2 separate regions of the Homo sapiens genome follow, and region 2 is linked to region 1. Evidence: promoter capture Hi-C in human tissues and cell types (Jung and others, 2019). All regions are on one chromosome and are shown on one strand. Each heading gives the region's core, a stretch centred on a gene start or on the middle of the fragment in contact. The rest is flanking DNA. Distances are from core to core; before and after follow the strand shown. Region 1 holds the start of SEC13 (SEC13 homolog, nuclear pore and COPII component). Region 2 overlaps LHFPL4 (LHFPL tetraspan subfamily member 4).

What was found. Contacts are between HindIII fragments. The study calls those that stand out against the background at their distance.
Region 2: a fragment that was not itself captured here is called in contact with the fragment with the promoter of SEC13 in region 1 in 1 of the 25 tissues and cell types used here (lymphoblastoid cells).

What each region holds. Positions count from the first base shown.
Region 1 is chr3:10,319,652-10,322,695 of GRCh38, reverse strand. It overlaps SEC13 (SEC13 homolog, nuclear pore and COPII component), which reads left to right and starts at 1,584. Exons shown (of 9, transcript NM_183352.3): 1 at 1,584-1,646. The coding sequence starts at 1,644. RefSeq lists a silencer at 1,349-1,428 and enhancers at 1,276-1,871, 1,619-1,918. The HindIII fragment of the contact is 24,307 bases long and covers 1-3,044 here.
Region 2 is chr3:9,498,592-9,501,541 of GRCh38, reverse strand. LHFPL4 (LHFPL tetraspan subfamily member 4) reads left to right here. Exons shown (of 4, transcript NM_198560.3): 4 at 1-2,950. Among named protein-coding and RNA genes, the nearest start is that of LHFPL4, 54 kb to the left of the region's middle. RefSeq lists an enhancer at 1-216. The HindIII fragment of the contact is 7,926 bases long and covers 1-2,950 here.

The DNA of each region.
Region 1 (3,044 bases), core at 335-2,834:
TAGAGGTTGCAGTGAGCCAAGATCATACCACTGGACTCCAGCCTGGGCAACAGAGCTAGAGTCCATCTCCAAAAAAAAAAAAACAAAAAAAACAACAGGAGATCCAAGAGATCCCCTGAAACCTGCCTTTGTTCCCTGCTCTAACCTAACCACCACCCCCTCACACCCCTGCAACAATTTCTCCACTAGAGGGCAATAAAAAATCTTGAAAGCTGCAGTGGGGTAGAAGAGTTGCCCAGAGGCCTGGCCCTTAATTCTAACACCCTACTCCCCTGGCCTCCCCTCCAAAGCTCCTTGACAGTTTGGGTCTATCACATTCTCTGAGCCTTAACATCTTCCTTCAAGCAGTGACCATCTCCAGCTAGGGTCCTTACTCCCAGTTTCAGCAGAGGAAACTGAAGGACTGTGACTTGCCCAAGGGGAGCCAAGGCCTCCCCCAGCTCATCTGCCTCCTTAATGTCACAAGGGGCCCAGGGCTAGACCATATGTGGCTGAGGCGGGGAGCCCAGGCTCTGTCCTCCAGTGTGGCATTCTCACTGCGCTTGTGGGGAGCCTTCAGCTGCCCTACCTTGTGAAGCCAGAGACCTGGGGTTGGGGACCCTGAGGATTAGGTCTGGGGCTCTAGCTGCAGGAGCCTGGCTGAGATCCTTCATTGCCTAGGGGGGTCTCCTTGATGGGACTTACTCAGGACCCCAGGGGATCGGTTTGGAAGGGGCAGTCCTATATAGGGGTTAGGGATGGCAGGGCCAGAGGTCCCAGCCTCTGGCGAGGGGCATTCCCTGGCCTCCTCTGCCCTGGTCCCAGTCCTTGGGTACTGAGAGGGAGACTACAACAAGGAAGCACTAGGACAGTCTACTTACTCCTAAGATGTCACTCATCCTACAACATTCATCATAAGACCAGTCGCACCCAGAGCCGTAGTGAGGCGGGTGAAGCTGCAGATAGATAGATGATAGATAGATAGATAGATAGATAGATAGATAGATAGATAGATAGATAGATTTTTTTCTTTTTTACAAGAGTGTCTCTCTGTTGCCCAGGCTGGAGTGCAATGGTGCAGTCACGGCTCACTGTAACCTCCACCTCCCGGGTTCCAGCGATTCTCCTGCCTCAGCCTGTAGCTGGGACTACAGGCGCGCGCCACTATGCCCGGCTAATTTTTGTATTTTTGGTAGAGACGGGGTTTCACCATGTTGGCCAGGCTGGTCTCGAACTCCTGACCTCAGGTGATCCACCCCCCAGCTCAGCCTCCCAAAGTTCTGGGATTACAGGCATGAGCCACCGCGCCCGGCCGATAGTTATATTAATCCTTTCTTTCATTTATGGATCTCAGGAAAAGGGCAGACTTGGTCGGGAGAGTAGACCCACCAGAGCTTCAGATTCCAAAGCCCTCCGGGTCAGGGTAACTGCGGCAACCAGAGCCCCAGCCCTCTGGTCTCGCACGTCACTGGAGGATAGGGGCTGGGCCACGGGAGGGCGGGGCGCGCCCTCTGGAAGGCGCGGAACTGCTGTGCGAGCCGAGCGCGTTGCTGCCCGGAGGCTCCTACGCCACGGCCCGTCGGGCCCGGCGCCGGAAGTGAGCTGTTCCGAGGCGCCGCCGGGAGCTGCCACGTCCGAGACCTGGAGCAGCCACCGCCGCAATCATGGTGAGTGTTGGTACTGAGGAGGCCTAGCAGGGTGAAGGCCACGGTCGCGGCCTTCACGGGTTCCTCGGCCGTCCTGAGTCCCAAATCCCAAGCTGGAGCCGTTCAGCTCCCCTCCACCGCTTAGAGATTTGGGGGGCTCTGGCCCCGTCCTTGCGGACCATTCCGAGGGGAGTCCAGAGGTGAGGCCGAGGAACCTCCCTGACTTTGCGGGGCGCGCCGCTCCTGCGTCTCCTGCCAGTCTCCCTTCCTTCTTTTCGGTCAACAATTGAAAACAAAACGAGGAACAGCAGAGGAGCTACTGTATACCGAGCCCTCAGCATTGTTCGTAATCTCCGCCTGCTAACAGCCTTGTGAAGAAGGTGCTATTCTTCTCAACACTTTACAGATGAGGACACTTGAGGTTCGGAGACGTGGAGCCTCTTGCACAGCTGCTTAAGTGGTAGTAGAGCCGAGATTTGAACCCTCCTAACCATTCCTTTCTGCCGCCTACTGCAGCTCCCAGCAGAGATGATTGAACTGTTGCTCGGGGTAGGGCCCCCAGGTAGGATGGGCACCTCGGGAAACGTAAAGATGGCCTGAACGACCCTCCGAAGGCAGGGGCTCAGGGTTTTTTAAGTCTCTGTGGCATCTGCAGTGTACATTCACTCCACACTTACTCCTTGAGTGAATGAATGACTGAAGGAGAACTAAAGAATGGAAGTATCTGGGCTGAGCCTGGAATATCTAGTACATGCATTCTTTTAGAAACATGGGTGTGTCTCAGCAGCAGGTTTGAGGGAACCTGCAGGAACCTAGAAATCAGAACACTGTGTTCTTGTTCTGCAGAGGGTTAGGTGTAAATCACTCACCTCTGGCTCTTCCACTGCAGGTTAGAGTTGAGGCTTTTATGCTCTGACATTCAGCTCATCCTAAATGAATTTTTAACTCATTATCTGATCTCAAAGAGGTGAATTATTTTGAGTGCAGGTGTTAACAGGGACCAGATAATACCAGGTCCCTGGGAAGAAGTACTCTAAGAAGTTCTCTCTCTCTCTCTCTCTCTCCCCACCCTCCCTCTCTCCCCACTCCCTCTCCCTCCCCCCTTCCTCTCCCTCTCCCTTTCTCTCTCTCCCCCTCCCTCTCTTCTCTCTCTCTCTCCCCGCTCCCTCTTCCTCCCCCCTTCCTCTCCCTCTCCCTTTCTCTCCCGCCCTTCCTCCTTCCTTCCGTCCTTTTCTCTCCCCCTCCCTCTTTCCTCCCCCCCCCCCCCCCCCGCCTTCTCTCTCTCTCTCTCTCTCTCTCTCTCTCTCTCATTCAGAAGTGTGGTTCATCAACCCTGACTGGTGGGTGAGAGTGGTTAGAATTAAATGCTGATTATTTCTAAGGTCCTTTGGTAACCTGGTTGAAACTACCTCTCAGTAA
Region 2 (2,950 bases), core at 42-2,541, 820 kb after region 1:
GGCTCTGGAGGTAGCGGGAGGGGGTACGTGGCCTCGGCAGTTGGAGCTTAGAAGCTGCTCAGCCCGGGCTGGCCTGGCCTCCTCTTCCTCTCTGCTGGAACATCTCACTGATGACTGAGCCCTTGACCTTGGCCTCTTTTGCCCAGGCCTCCTCTCTGCTGGGATGTCTCACCAATGACTGGACCCTTGACCCTGGCCTGTTTTGTACAGCACAGACTTCTTGGCCCTGTTGTCAGGGTTGGGGGTGTGGAGGGGACCCCAGAGGTGGGGAGTTGGGGGATGCATTACCCCTTCTGCCCCTTTTCATGCCCTCCATACCCCAGGCGTCTACCAAGGGCAGAGACTGTCTTGTCTCTTTGATACTTTTCTGCATAACTTGAACTTGCAGGTCATCTCTGAACAGGGTACCCCTGTCCCCCTTCCTAAGCCTTGTTACCCTGTCCCAGCCTCTTCCTCCTCCTGGCCCACCTCTCGCCTTGCGATATGCCCAGGGTCTGCACCTATGGGCAGTGCTTGGAGCCGAGGCATGAGTGTATGTGTATGTGGGTGAAATGTGTGTGCGTGTGTGTGCGCGTGTGAGCGTGTGTGTGTGTGTGTGTGTTGGGGGACAGGTGAGAAGTTTCTCCCCCCTCCACCCACTGTGGGGGCGTCTCCCTTCCCCTTGGCAGGGAGCAGGTGAGGGAGACTCCTGGTATTTTTTGAACACCCGTCATTCCCCTGTGGGTCTGGCGGCAGAGCCATCTCTCCCGGGGAGCCTCCCTGCCCTGGGGCCTGGACAGCTCCCTCAGCACTAGTTGCTGGTGCAGACCGGCTTCGTCCAGCGCCCCCTCCTGGCGGCCTGGACCTGCAGGGAAGGGGCGGTGCCCTGCAGGATGCCAGGGGAAGCCGCCTCGGGCCTCGGCGGAGGGGAGAGGGTCGCTTGAGCGCCATGTGTTTGCCAACCTTGTGTTCATTTCCACAGGACTTGGACCTGAGAGTTAGGGTTTCCAAGAAAGACCCTAGAAGTCCCCTGCCTGTCTCCCCACTCTGGACCCTAGCCGGAATCAGATGTTGGGACCTAGTGGGTTCCTGCCACCTGGAACTTACCAAGTCCCGACTTCACTCCTCCACTTACTCCTCCCGGGCAAAGCCTCCCCGCAGTGCTCTGGTCCCAGCGCTGGGCTCCCCTTCCCCGCCGGCGCCTTCCCGGACAGTCCAGTCGGCCTGGGGTAGGGGCGCTGCGGGACAGAGGGTCCGAGTTAAATGCGGGAGGATGCGGGAGCCCCGTGGGAGGGAGTTGGGGTAGGAGGGAGTTCCTCAAAGATGCAAACCAAGCCCAGCGTTGGAGGGGGAGAGCAGAGTTAGGAGAGAGTGAGGGGAGGGGCGCAGCAAGCGACTGGGAATGGGAGAAGACACTGGGGTGAGGAGAAGAGGGGTGCAGAGACAGGGAGATGAGAGATGATTGGAGAAGGAGCGAGGGGGACGCACAGGCACAGAGAAACAGCGCGAGGAGGAGAGATCGAGAGAGACGGGGCAGAGGTGGAGAGAGATGAGAGACCAGCTGAGAGGCTGCCCGAGAGCTTGGGGTGGGGGAGGGGAAATGGATGAAAAGGCGGAAAAAGGACTCGGGAGCGGGGAAGAGGTAAATGGAGATGTGGGTTGGGGGCAAGAATGGGATGCAGAGGAAGGAGAGGAGGATGAAGGAGCCAGGATGCGGGGCAGTGGGGAGGGGGTTGCTATCTGGGCACTGGGTGAGGGGAGAGCTTGTTCCCCCAAGGACGCCTGCCACCAGGTGTCCTTGCCACACCTTGTTCCCCAAGGACACCCACCAAACCTGTGCCCTGGTGCGGGGGATAGAACTGACCTTTCAGAGGCTGGAGGCCCGGGGCACAGGCAGCCAAGGCCGCATCCTTTTGGGAAGAACTGGAGTGAAGGAAGCCACTTCAGAGGACGTAGTGGGTCCAGCTGACTTAGGAGTGGGTCAGCGCCGGGTGGAGAGGAGGGAGGCTAGTTCCCTGGTGGGGTAGCCTGGCAACATTCCCATTCCACCGCACCTGGCCAGCTGCCATCTTGGCAGAGCCAGGGGGAGATGCACCAGGGAGTTTGGAGTCAGGAAGGCAGAGTTGTGTGGGCTGAAGTCTGCGGGAACCCCAGGGTGACACAGGCAAGGGGTAGAAGTCAGAGTGGGGACCAAACCATAGACTGGGGCCCTGGGTTCTGCAGAGGTGTGGATGGGGCAGGTGGCAGGTGCTCCAGTGGGGGCCCCAGGTGAGGCCCTGATGGCCCTCCTGGGGCAATAAAGACATCATGGGAAGGGGGCTTTGTGGTTTGCCTCTGCTCTCGTCGGGCGATCTGGCTTTAGCCTTCAGGAGGAGGTAAGCAGAGGAGATCAGTGCCTGTTTCTGACCCCAGGAGGGCCTTGTTGGGCTCCAACCTAGAGCCTTCCGGCTTCAGGTCCCAAGAGAAGTCCCCCCCTAACTGTGACCCCCCTAACTGTGATCAGGGGTCTGCCATTGCCCGCTTTTCTCTGCCTGATCTGGGGACTCAGGAGAGGCCACGGCAGCCACAGCCTAGGGGTGGTTCAGTCCCTGGCCCACAGTCTGGTCAGTTGAGTCCTTCTGGGAACCGGGGCTATGAAAACTTTCGTCTTTGGGGACCGGTACCCATGAAGGAAAACTTTCCTGAGGGGGTGAGGACCAAAGAATCAAGATCCTTTTCAGGCCTGATAGCCAAGATGATGAGAACTTTTAGATAAGGCTGTGGGGAGAGTCCCTGGCCTTTTGAGCATCCTGCTTGGGCACACGGGGAATAACCTTTCTCCAGCTTCCAGTGTGAACTGAGAAAGAGAAAGGGAAACCCTGTCTTTGGAGAAGCTGGGATGTTCCCAGCACCAGAAACTTCTGCAGGCCCCTGCCTGGCCCACGGCTAACCTTTGGGTGGGACTGGAGTTTCCTGAACAGGGAACAAGGGA